Regions from separate parts of the Homo sapiens genome. Here region 1 is linked to region 2. Evidence: promoter capture Hi-C in human tissues and cell types (Jung and others, 2019). All regions are on one chromosome and are shown on one strand. The core of a region is centred on a gene start or on the middle of the fragment in contact, and the rest is flanking DNA. Distances in the headings are between cores, read along the strand shown. Region 1 overlaps UBE3B (ubiquitin protein ligase E3B). Region 2 holds the start of TRPV4 (transient receptor potential cation channel subfamily V member 4).

The links. The method cuts DNA at HindIII sites, captures the fragments that hold promoters and counts their contacts. A contact is called where the count stands out against the background at its distance.
Region 1: a contact is called between a fragment that was not itself captured here and the fragment with the promoter of TRPV4 in region 2, in 1 of the 25 tissues and cell types used here (stomach).

The regions. Positions count from the first base shown.
Region 1 is chr12:109,484,803-109,491,328 of GRCh38, reverse strand. It overlaps UBE3B (ubiquitin protein ligase E3B), which reads right to left. Exons shown (of 28, transcript NM_130466.4): 5 at 5,258-5,317; 6 at 4,754-4,858; 7 at 2,661-2,757; 8 at 1,325-1,410; 9 at 202-284. Among named protein-coding and RNA genes, the nearest start is that of UBE3B, 10 kb to the right of the region's middle. The HindIII fragment of the contact is 7,663 bases long and covers 207-6,526 here.
Region 2 is chr12:109,832,148-109,838,911 of GRCh38, reverse strand. TRPV4 (transient receptor potential cation channel subfamily V member 4) reads left to right here and starts at 5,514. Exons shown (of 16, transcript NM_021625.5): 1 at 5,514-5,562. MIR4497 (microRNA 4497) reads right to left here and starts at 5,564; the gene lies at 5,476-5,564. The HindIII fragment of the contact is 21,611 bases long and covers 1-6,764 here.

The DNA.
Region 1 (6,526 bases), core at 2,789-5,288, 350 kb after region 2:
ATTAAGAAATATTCAAGACTGAAGATTAAGAAAAAGTTTGAGCAGTCACAAATGTGCTCACTTTCATTAAGAACAATGCTTCCCATAAATTCTGACAAAATGGGCAAGTCTATACCTAATACCAGTAACGAGAGAAAGAAAAACCAAGAGGAGGAAGCATTCAAGAACATGCCAACACCTCAGCTATGGTTTCTTACTCACCGTAACGCTAGAGAAAAAGCTGCTGTTAAAGTGCCTTTGGATAGACAAGGACGGGGTCTTGCCAGGCCACGGGTTAACAATATCTGAAAAGAATGTTTTAATTGGTCAGAGGATGATATCAACTTTATATTCATTTGTACATAAAAGAGCAAAAAAGTAAACTGAGTGCTTCAGATAAAAAAACTGTATTGTGAGCCAGGCATGGTGGCTTGTACCTACAGTCCCAGCTCAGGAGGCTGAGGCAGGAAGATTCCTTGAGGCCAGCCTGGGTGACAGGGCAACCCTGTCTCTTAAAAAAAAAACAAAAAAACAAAAAAACAAAAAACCGTATGCAGTGTTTTTATAAAAGGAAAGGGAAGAAAGTATTGGGTAACGAGGTTAACTCTACCACTCTTTCTCTAAATATTATGGTTAGAAATTCTTTAATAATAAAGTTAAAAAAACAGCTAATACAAATAATGCCAGACTTAAAATTTAAAGACATCATATTATTTTAGAAGCCGTTTAATTATGGTATGAAGTAGAAGGTTCCTCTAGCGAGACAACTGCCAGTCATACCAGCTTCTGCCAACGGACCACCTCACAGGGTTGTTGTGAGGAGCATATGAAACCAAATCAGGAAACAGCCCATCACAGCACTAGGGAGAAGGAAGGGCAAAGTCAACATTACTTCTCAAACTCAAGACTTCCATTGTACCTTTAAACAGCAATCAGGCTTTCTCAACAATTCCCTAGAGGTATGATCTGGCACAACAAGGTACAAAGTGGAAAGGGCTGTTTGAGGACACAGAGCTAGAAATATGATTCTAGACATCAACCAAGAAGGAATCTGAGGGAACAAGCCCTGAGGTCTCCTTCCAGAGTTTAAATGTCAAAAGACTGGATTACCCTTGCAGCCAAAAATGTAGAGCATTCAAGGGATCCCAGCACCACTGTCCTCCCTTTACCTGACCCACAAGTGAGACAAGGCAGGGGAAGGAAGAAGAGGACAGCAGGCATCAAGCTCTTCCTATGAAAAGTGTTTCTGAGGAGGACACCAGGTATGCTGAATGCAAATGTAAAAATCCAAGTGCAGGTGTTGGAGAGTGGAGAAGTTGCACACTGGGGGGCAGGAGTCACAGACCTGCAGCACAGAATAAAATCCATGCTGGTTGAGATGTCCCATTATATTTGCACAAATGTGGTTCATCGCTGGTCGAAGACTTTCACCTAAAGAAAGAAAACAGTGAGAACAAAAAAGTCTCTTGCCATAATGTGACCTGTTTATGTGGGACAGGAAATTGTGTCCCACATCCGAGGCCCTAAGAAATGAGATACCCCCTGGCTTGCCTCCCTTTTCCCTTAGGCCTGGTGCCAGAGCACAGAAAGGCAATGCGTACCTGGAACTCTCTCTCTCCTGGTAGGCCTGGCTCAAGTGTCACCTCTTGAGTGATGGGTCCTCTCACACCCCTAGCCAGAAGTGACGTCTCTGGCCTCTGAGCGCCTGTAGCACCTTTTCTAATTCCCTCCTAGGGCCTAGCACTGCCTTCGCCAGGGGGATGCCTACTCTCCTCAATGGGACATGAGCTTCCCAGCAGGGCCCAGAACTGAACAATTTTTGGGTTCCCCCCAAGAGGCCAGGGTCATGCCTGAAATAAGCCCTCCTTGCTGACCTGGAGCCTTGCATACAGCTTTCCCTGCTTTCCGTTTCATCCCCGCTCTTCACTCTGTGAATCCTAGCTCCCTCTGCAGCTCTCAGCTCACACACCACTTCTTCAGGAAAGCTAGAGACCCAGACCAAGCAAGGCCTCCCCACCCTACTGGACACTCTCATTTCTCTTGCATGCTTCCTTCCAAGCACTTACCACATTATTGTCATTTTATATCTATGAGCGACATCTATTTAATGCCTGTTTTCCTCATCGGACTTTAAGTTCTGTGAGGAAGGGAGCACCTAAAGTCCCTGGAGGGCAATGCCCCTTTCTGTTTTGCTTATCTGTCTTCAGCGCCTAGAGGCATCTGGCATGTATGGGCTACTTGTTGAACAGATGAATGAAATGACCATATGAAACACACGGCACTAACGACACTTACCAGGGAAGGAAGAAGTTTATAATGCAAATTTTATGGGCAAAATAGAATTATTCACAACCTAATGATTTTCCAAGTAAAATGACAAGGCTTAAGTGAATGTAATCACTTGGAGGCTAAGGCACTGTGGGAACTATAAAAATTAAAATCAGAAGAACCATGACTTTAAATGTAAATTCAAAGAAGGGTTGAGTACAACACACAATGCTGAATGGATTGTGGATACTGCGATGCAGTCTGATGGTCAGCACCAAGGGCATCCTCATTTGTATGGTCTCAGGGCCTTCCCTGAGGCTTGTGGCAAAAATGCTTCTTACAAAGGAAAAAAGGTCCCTGAGCTCTCTATGGAAATGTTGGTTAGAGAACATTTTGAAGCAAGTCCCACAGACCTTTTCCCCGAAGAATTTTCCACGTTGAAGTGTCTGTGAAGGTGACAAGCATCGTGAGGTACAGGGTGATGAGTCGGGAGTCCTGCAGGATTTCAGGCTGGAAACAATAAACACAGCAAGATTAAGACACACGTCTTCTGATTCCAGACAGTGAAGTGTTCACTTTACAACTGCTCTATGGGCACTCAGCCTGGAATCACTGAGTCAGGATTATAAGTCAGTCTTAATTCTTTTTCTCTTGGGCAATGACCACTCCAGGAGTTAAATAACAGGGAATGTGGCACTCTAGTGCCTGATAATGGAATCATGGGATTCCATTATTCTTGGGAATGGAGAATTGAGAATCCCTAGAAAACAAGATGACCAGGGCTGGCTTGCTGTATGTACATGTGCCTGCCTGTCTGTCTGAACTCTGCAGCAACAGAGCAGAAATGCAATTGAGCATGACTAGGACTCTGGGCTCAGCCTTCTGACTTCACCACTTACTAGCTGTGTGAGCTTAGGCAAGTTTCTTAACCTTTCTGTGCCTCGGTTTCCTCATCTGTTGACCAGAAATAGTAACACTGCTTTCCTCATAGGGTTGTTGTGAGAAATAAATGGATTAATGCGTATGATGCACTAAGAACAGTGTCTGGCACATAGATAACTCCATGTAATGTTGGCTGCTGTTCTAATTTTGATGACAGTTCATTGTTTCACCAAGTGTAAGTCAAGCAAAAGGCCTGACTGCTTTCTAGGCCCACAGACCCTATAGCAGGTCCACCTGGAAGGGACCTTGGAGACAACCTTGGAGACCACTGAGTTCAAACCTCAAAGCTCATCGACAGTAAGAGAGGGGAAGCAGCTTGTTCAAGGCCACGTGGGAAATGAACAGCAGAATCAGGACTGAATTTCACATATTCCTGGCTCCAGAGTCAGGGCCCTTTTTCTCCTGACGTCTGTTTCTTTGCATAAACTTTTTTTGTTTGTCCAAAATAGAAGAGCTTCTCCTCAAAGAGCAATCTGTTGTGGAATGTACACATAGAGAGCAGATAAACAAGGATCTGCCTGGCTCGCGTGCAGGTAGGGAAATACCCTGCTCACTTGGCCCTAAGGCATTCTGGTGGACTCCCAGGGCTCCGAGGAACATAGTGTGGAAACCCTGCGCTGAGCCATGTCTCACCTGACAAGCCAGGCATGGCAAGAGCCATTCCTGAGCAGCCAAAGAGGGATGGCTGGGAATGGATTATTACTGGGGTTGGGGGCGGTCTGGGGACTTTCGTTCCATTACTGAGCTGCTATCTGTGTCCTTGCCAAGCCTCTGTCCCTGAGACCTCTCTATCCTTATAAGCAAAGTGGAAGTGGCTCCTGTGTATGTCTGCTCACACCCCTGTCCATCCTTTTCAGAACACTGAAGGGGGTAGGGGAACACAGGACCAGGCTGGGCTAGTGGCAGTACCCCATTCCTCTTGCCACTGTGACTGGTTCAGAGATGAACCCAGGATTCACTGGACCTACAAGAAACCTGGATTTTTGAACTGGTCGGGAGGCCTCTCCTCCCTTTAGTCAAGACAGAGTAAGAATATAAAGTCAAAACTGCTCGTTGCCATGATTACAGCAGGAAAGGACGAGGTGACCCCAAAAGGGAGCAGGGATGAGAGAAAAGAATGAGAGGGAGAATCAGAACCCCCTAGCTCTCCTTACTCTAGCTGCCACGTTACTGAATATATTCTAGAGCACAACGTTCTCTTCCTTGCTTAACTGGTACGTGATACTAGCTGTGCTCACGTTCGGCTTCTGTACTTTTAACAAGAGGCCTGACTAGTATAATAATGTAGATCATAAAGTACTGATTACATTAAATGAATGGGAAGGAAAGTGACAGATTCCCTGCCATGGAGGCTGTGGCGTGGCAAGCAGTTTAAGGGTCCAACACACACCAAAGGAGGGCTCATATTGATAACAGAATCAAAATTCCTCTCTTCCAGAACAGTGGCTCAACTAGCAACTCTCGTTGATAGTGACTCTGAAAATACAGACTAAAGTCTACAGGTGAAAATGACATACGTACTGTTTCTGGTTTTGCTTTTTTTTTTTTTTTTTTTTTTTGTTACCTTGAGCTGCTTGAGAAAATCACAGCAGTACCACAAAATGTTCTTGATCTGTTGAATCCAAAGGAGGGTGAGGTCCTTAGAACAAGCCAGGGACACATACCACACCTATAGGTGGGAAAAAGAGGAATGTCATGGGCTGTTATAGAGATCATATCACTTGTGCTCTAACTGTTGGAACTGGACCTATTAGTTAGGTCCAGTGCCAGATAAAGCAGTGGACCTGAATGGACAAATAAGCTGTAAACAGGACTTATTTTAACACTAAACGCAAAGACAAAATAGCCTAGTAAGAAAATTTACTATCCTGTGTTGTGGCAAGAGCAGAACGTAGCTACCTGGATCATGAAGAAACTAAGGAATCATTTGTACTTTGGTAATGTTTTCCATCCACTACTTATTTGCATTTGTGTGTGAATTGGTCCTAATATTCAACAGGAACTTTCAGAGCCCAGTAGGTTGGCCCTTAAGAGCTTGTGGGAGACACTGCGGCTCCCGTCCACTTACCTTAGGCTCATTCTCAGCATCCATGCTGCTCAGGATGCTGCGACACAACTTCTCAAATCTCTGCAAAGAGACACACTGGGGGTTATACATTCCCACAATCCATCAAAAAGTGAAAACAAAGAAAACAAGCCTTCAGCGGGTACCTGGCACGTGCAGGTATTATGCCAGGTGATTCACACATAATCACATGCAGTTCCTTCCTACAGATGAGGACACTGAAGATCATAAAGACTAAAGGGTTCTCCAACTGGTGGCCCAAGAGCTGGAGGAACCCTATAGAAATGTTTTAGAAACTGGTATACTTCACATAAAAACCCAAATTGAGGCTTCTTTCAAAAAACAGTATCAATCTGGCAAACTGGATTTGGATTCCTGCAGGCCTGCTGCTGTCTCCTCAACTGTGCTCTCCAGTTTACCTTTTCTTAAGCACCATGGATACTGACTTTTGCCTCACAGCCAGTAGCCAAAGGCTGCTGTATCATCACTTTTATCCTGTAATGCAAAAGGAAGAAAAGTGGAAACTAGAAAACAGGTTCCATTTTGGCTATACCAATCCTGGATCCGCCCTTAAACCATGTGATATTGGGCAAGCTGCCCTACCACCCTGAGCTGCAGTTTCCTTCTCTGTAAGATGAGGTTCACCTCCTCCAGCTTATCTGTCCTCATCTACGTAATCATGTGTTCACTGCCTGCATAGTCCTCCCTCTCTTGCTGGGCTATGAGCTCCATGAGCGTAGAGATCTTGCCCGTCCTGTTTCCTCCCAAGGGCCCAGTGCCTAGAGAGGGTTGGCACAATGTGAAGCTTAGCAATAGGAATGCCTAACAGCCTAACAGCTGGTAACTTGGAGACATGCCTCAGTGGCATTGTTAGTACTATTACAGATAACTAGCTGCTTTTCTGGGATTACACTTTTCAGGCTGATCATTCTAATCCCTAAGGTGCAAACTGGCACCTTTTGTATGATTTGCAGGATATTTAAAAAATTTCAAATTAATTGCCAAGATTTACAAATTAGAACATTGATGGTAGCTCACGCCTGTAATCCCAGCACTTTGGGATGCTGAGGCAGGTGGATCACTTGAGCCCAGGAGTTTGAGACAAGCCTGGGCAATAAGGTAAAACCCTATCTCTACAAAAAATACAAAAACTTGCTGTGCATGGTGGCACACACCTGCAGTCCCAGCTACTGAGGAGGCTGAGGCAGAAGAATCGTTTGAGACTTGGGAGGTCAAGACTATAGTGAGCTGTGATAGTGCTACTGCACTCCA
Region 2 (6,764 bases), core at 4,265-6,764:
CTCCGGAGTAGCTGGGATTACAGGCGCTCATTACCACGCCCGACTAATTTTTATATTTTTAGTAGAGATGGGGTTTCACCATGTTGGCCAGGCTGGTCTGGAACTCCTGACCTCGTGATCCTCCCACCTTGGCCTCCCAAAGTGCTGGGATTACAGGCATGAGCCACTGTGCCTGGCCTTCAGTGGTTTTTAGTATAGTCATACATATGAGCAACCATCACCAGTCAATTTTAGAATATTTGCATCATCCTATTTGGTTGGGTGTGGTGGTATGCGCCTGCAGTCCCAGCTACTCAGGAGGTTGAGGTGAGAGCATGGTTTGAACCCAGAAGTTAGAGGGTGCAGTGAGCTGTGGTTGCACTGCTGCCCTCCAGCCTGTGCGACAGAAAAAGAAAAAGAAAACCCATACCCTTTAGCTATTACCCTTGGCCCCCCAAATCCTCCCTTCCCCCCAGCCCCTGACGACCACTCAGCTCTTTTCTGTTTCTATAGATTTGCCTCTTCTGGCCATTTCATATAAATGGAATTATGTAATATGCGGCCTTTTGTGTCTGGCCACTCAGCATCCTGCTTCCAAGGTTCATCCATGTTGTTGCATGACTCAGTAACCATTCATTTTATTGCCAAATAGTATTCCTTTGTGTGGATATACTGTGTTTGTTTATCCATTGAGAATTTGAGTTGTTTTCTTTTTTTGGCTATTATGAATAATGCTGCTATGAACATTCAAGTTTTTCTATGGACGTAAGTTCTCATTTCTCTTGGCTATATTTCTGGGGTGGAATTGCTGGGTCATATGGGAACTCCAGATTTTTTTTTTTTTTTTGAGACAGGATCTCACTCTGTTGCCCAGGCTGGAGTGCAGTGGCACAATCTCAGCTCACTGCAGCCTCTGCCTCCTGGGCTTAAGCAATTCTTGTGCCTCAACCTCCTGAGTAGTTGGGATTGCAGGTGCCCACCATCATGCCCGGCTAATTTTTGTATTTTTTTTTTTAATTAGAGATGAGGTTTCACCGTGTTGGCCAGGCTGGTCTCAAACTCCTGGCCTCAAGTGATCCTTCCGCCTTGACCTCCCAAAGTGTTGGGATTACAGGCGGGAGCCACCGTGCCTGGCAGTAACTCTAGATTTAATATTTGGAGGAACTGCCAGACCGTTTTCCATAGCAGCCACTCCATTACACATTCCCACCAGCAGTGTGCGAAGATTCCAGCTTCTCCACTTCCTCATCCACACTTATGGTCTGTCTTTTTGAGATCATATTCTTTTTTTCTTTTTTTCCTAGACAGGGTCTCACTTTGTTGCTCAGGCTGGAGTGTAGCTGCCTGAACACAGCTCACTGCAGCCTTGACCTCCAGGGCTCAAGTGATTCTCCTGCCTTAGCCTCCCCAAATGCTATGATTACAGGTGTGTGCCGCCGCACCTGGCCAGGAAAATATTCCTGCTGGTCATGCTACACTGTAGAGTCTGCTGGGCTTGGGTTCAAATCTTACCAGTTGTGGGATGATCTCAGACAAGTGGCCTCTTTGTGTCATTATCTATAAAATGGTGGAAGAATTCCTCCTTTCCAGGCTGTCAAAAGATGAACTGAGTTAGTGGCAGGATCAGGACTGTGCCAACTGTAAAGTGAGGTGCACGTGTCTTGTTTTTATAACTGGGTACCCTGGGTATAAAGTCCCTGAGATCCTGACCTGTCTGGCTCACCAATCTCTCCCCAGCATCTGGCACTGGACCTGGCATACAGTAAGCACTTGGTAAATGCAGACCCTTGGCTGCTGCCCAGGAACCTTTCTTAGGGGAGGTAGCTGAGTCCACCTGGGGCAGTCCAGGAGCTACGTGGAGAGCAAGGCTGCGCCCCACATGTGGCTGCCACATGACTCACAGCCAATGCTGAGGGCCTTGAAAGTTTTTCCTTCCCTAAGAGGAAACATTATTTCTGGCTAGGCACAGTGGCTCATGCCTGTAATCCCAATGTTTTGAGAGGCCAGGTTATGAGGATCACTTGAGCACGGGAGTTTGAGACCAGCTTGGGCAGCATAGCGAGACCTCACCTGTACAAAAAATAAAATTTAAAAAGCCAGGCTTGGTGACACACACCTATAGTCCCAGCTATTCAGGAGGCTGAGGCAGGAGGATCGCTTGAACCTAGGAATTTGAGGCTGCAGTGAGCTATGAGCAGGCAACTGCACTACAGCCTGGGCTACAGAGCAATACCCTGTCTCTCTCTAAAAATAAAAAAAAAAAGATTAAAAATTAAACTTAAAAAGTATATTCATATTGTTGTGTGACCCTCGTTCATCTCCAGAACTCTTTGCATCTTGCAAAACTGAAACCCTACGCCCAACAAACAGCAACCTCCCATTCTCCTCTCCCCCAGCTCCATCAACCAGGACTTTTTTTTTTTTTGAGATGGAGTCGCTCTCTGTTGCCCAGGCTGGAGTGCAGTGGCACGATCTCTGCTCACTGCAACCTCCCTCTCCCAGGTTCAAGCAATTCTGTCTCAGCCTCCCAGGTAGCTGGGATTACAGGTGCCCACCACCATGCCCAACTAATTTTTGTATTTTTAGTGGAGACGGGGTTTCATCATGTTGGCCAGGCTGGTCTCGAACTCCTGACCTCAGTTGATCTGCCCACTTCAGCCTCCCAAAGTGCTGGGATTACAGGCATGAGCCACTTCGCCTGACCCATCAACCAGTATTTTTAAAGCACCTACTAAGTGCCAGGTGCTAGACCTGTGGTCATGAACACGTTCCCTTGCTTCATGGACACTGGTACCCATTTTTTAGGTGAGGAAACTGAGGCACAGAGAGAGAGGGAGGCTCTTGCCCACAGCTCCCACCACAGCTCCTTCTCCCATCAGCGGCAGGGCAGGATTTGAACCCCAGTGTCTGGTGCAGAGGCCAAGCTCCAGCTGCTTAGCCCAAGATGAGTCACTTCCCTACATGGGGGCCTCAGTTGCCCCATCTGTGAAATGGGGATCAGGAAAGAGCTGGGTTAGTGATGATGATGCTGAGCGCTCAGGCCCCTTCCCTCTGAGCTTAGAGAAGAGGAGGTCGCCATCCCTGGCCCCATCTCCCCCAGTTCCAGTCCCCAACATCAGCTGCCTTATGGCTGGAATCACCCTTGCCATTTTCTTTAAATTGAGACAGGCCTTTCTGCAGAAATGGGTCCCAGACTCACTCCTCCACTCTCAACCTGGCCCAGCCCCAGCCCCAGCCCTGAGGGCCCCCAGCAGATAGCTGTCTGTCAGGGAGGTGTGAGGGGCCCTGTGTTTACCTTCCTCTCCACTGCCAGACATCTGCCTGTTTACTCCGGACCCTCAGAGGGTTCTCTTTCCCACCCCAACCCCCACCATGGAGGGAGCAGCTTTTGGAGAGGCCATACTCCTCTCCAAGCCTCAGTTTCCCACTTGCAAAATGGGTAGAGCAAACCCTACCTCACAGCCTGTTCTCCCTCTCATCCCCTAGGCTTCTGTGCTCAGTGAGTTAATTATTAGGGTTTGTTTCTTTGTAAATGTTTCACGCTGGAGGTGAACACATCACTCCTATTCAGGGGTACACACACACACACACTCTCTCTCTCTCTCTTTCGCCTCCCCACCCAGCAATTCTAAAATTTCACTTTCCAGCTGTTGGACCTCAGGAGAGATGCTGCTATTTTCAAGCTGAGGAGGAAGGAGCTACCCCACAGTCCCTGAGTCAGCTCAATTTAGTGAAAACACTAATGATGAAAATGGCATGGCTCTGGGCCGGGCACGGCGGCTCACACCTGTAATCCCAGCACTTTGGGAGGCCAAAGTGGGTGGATCAACTGAGGTCAGGGGTTCAAGACCAGCCTGGCCAACATGGTGAAACCCTGTCTCTACTAAAAATACAAAAAATTAGCCTGGCGTGGTGGCGCATGCCTGTAATCCCAGCCCCCAGGAGGCTGAGGCAGGAGAATCGCTTGAACTCAGGAGGCAGAGGTTGCAGTGAGCTGAGATCACACCCCTGAACTCCAGCCTGGGCGACAGAGTAAGACTCTGTCTCAAAAAAAAAAAAAAAAGGGCTCTGCACAGCCTGGATGCTCCCAGCATCTTCACTGCGACTGTGAGGTGAGGACTTTTGTATGCCCCACTCTACAGGGGGATGTAGAGGCACTGAGGCACAAAGGTGAAGGGACTTGCATAGGGCTGCTGGGTTAGAGAGTCACAGAGCCAAGCTGTGGGCCTGCTAGGCTTTCCAACCACCCTGGAGGAAGTGAGCTGCCCATCCTGTGGAGGTATTCAAGTGGACTCAGTGCTGGGTAGAGGGTATGGCTATGTGTTGGGGCCCACCTTTGTTATCTGATAAAAGAAAATACATGGGTAGGTGTGGTGGCTCATGCCTATACTCTCAGTGCTTTGGGAGACTGAAGTGGGAGGATCACTTGAGGCCAGGAGTTGTAGACCGGCTGCCCTCCCCCACCCCCCCTTCTACAAAAAAATAAAAATTAGTGGGGTGTGGTGGCGCATGCCTGTACTCCCAGCTGCTCAGGAGGCTGAGGTGGGAGGATCTCTTGAGGCCAGGAGTTTGAGGCTGTAGTGAGCCGTGATCATGCCACTGCACTTCAACCTGGGTGACAAAGGGAGAACATGTATCAAAAATAATAATAATAATAAAAAAAATAAACAAAAACGCATTGAGCCAGGCACGGTGACTCAGACCTCTAATCCCAGCACTTTGGGAGGCCGAGGTGGGTAGATCGCTTGAGCCTGGAGTTTGAGACCAGCCTAGGCAACATAGTGAGACCCTATCTCTGCAAAAAATTTAAATAAAATTAGCCAAGCATGGTGGTAGGCGTCTGTGGTCTCAGTTACTAGGGAGGCTGATACGGGAGGATTGCTTGAACGCTGGTGGTTGAGGCTGCAGTGATTCCTGATCACGCCACCGCACTCCAGCCTGGGCAACAGAGTGAGACCCTGTCTCAAAAACAACAGCAACAAAACATTGATGGCCTACTCCGAGGCAGGCTTCGCAGTAAGCACTGGGTGAAGACCAAGGAGAGCAGCTCACATTTATTTACCCCTGAACCATCTCTATGGGCCATACCCGAGGGTAGGGACCTCCTTCAACGCCTCGGAGGAAATTGTCTGCTGAATGAATGAATGAGCAAACACGTGGAGGACTGGGCCGGGACGCCCATTTAGAGACTAGGACACAGTCCCAGGGCGGCCCGAAGTCACGGAGCAAGATCGAATCGGAGCCGATTCCAACTAGAGCCCTCTCCAAAGACCGTCTGCCGCTCTATCCGGGGATCGCGACACCCATTTTCCAGGCGAGGAAACTGAGGCCCTGGCCCTGCACCTCCCCCGCAGGGGAGGCCCTCGCTGGGCGGGCGGGGTGCGAGTAGGGGCCGCCCCTTCTAGGGCCTGCGCTCGGCGGGGTCCGCGAGCCGGCGGGTGGGCGGGGAGCTGGCCGGGGGCGGCGCGCGGCTGGAACCTGAGCCGGCGGAGGAGGGACCCGCGGGCGGACGGGCGCCGGGCGGGCCGGCCGGGATTCAGGAAGCGCGGATCTCCCGGCCGCCGGCGCCCAGCCGTCCCGGAGGTAAGTGGGGCCCGGGCCCGGGAGGGGCGGCTCAGCCGAGGTCCCCTCGCGCCCCTGGGGACATCTCCGTGGCCCGTCCGGCTCCGGGGGGTCCCGAGGCTCCAAAATGCGGGCCAGGGGCGCGGGAGACGGAAGGCACCAGGTTCCGCAGGCGCCAGCCTCTCAGCTAAGTGCCCTTGGGCCGGACACCGGCTCTTTGGGTCTCGGTTTTATCACCTGTGAAATGGGCACCAACGTGGGGCCTGGGGTAGCAGGTCTGGGGGGAGGGCGGTTCGGTTCCCTGAGACCCCAAGCCAGGGAACCAAAGGCCCGGAGCCTTGCAGCCCACCTTAGGAGACTTGGAAGAGGGATTTCGGGGGACCTAAGGTTTGCCCTTGGCCCCTGAGCATGTCGGAGGGAATTTGGAGTCTGGAGCTTCCAAAGGCTTCTTCTTGGTTACTGAGTCCCGGAGAGACGGCTGTTTCCTCCAAGAGGCATGAAAATCTTTAACCTCTAGTTCTGCCCTGGACTCTCAGGACGTCCCGGGGGCGGGTGGCTCCTGGGGGTGGGTAGCGGGGGTGGGGGTGGGGGAGAGAGAGACTCCCACACTCCCCGCTTGCCTGGAAACACCAACCACAGATGCATTCATCGAGCCACCCACTGCTCCAGCCTGCCCCAGCTGTTCCCTCTGTCTGTCCTCTCTGTTTTGCAGATGGGGAAACTGAGGCTTAGGTCGGGGATCTAGACAATTGGGATTTAAACCCAGGGACTATCCAGCCCCAAAGCCCTTCCCACCACACCAGGTGGCCTGTCCTGGGGCCAGCTCTGCACACAGGGCCTGGTGCCCCCGGGGTGCTTGGGAAGTGGCAGGGCAGAGGTGGGCCCTGTGGCTGTTCTGGCTCAGCTTCTAAAACAAGAGCCTCTGCTGGGGGCAGAGGGGCCGTGAACCCCTGAAATGTTAGGCAGATACCCTGTGGGAGCTTTGTTCTGGGATGCTAAGAACCGCTTGAGGATTTAAGCTTTGCCACTTTGGCTCCGGAGCAAGGGCAGAGGGTAAGTCGGGACTCCCCGGGCTCCTGAGGAGGGTGACGAGGTGGGCTTTTGGGGGAACAAGGGTAGAAAGGTCAGGCCTGGGTTATCTGCGGGGCTAAGAGCGGGCCTGTGTGGGGCCCGGGGTGTGCTCTGCAGTCCCCTGCTGTGTGACCTTGGCCTGGTCCCTTAGC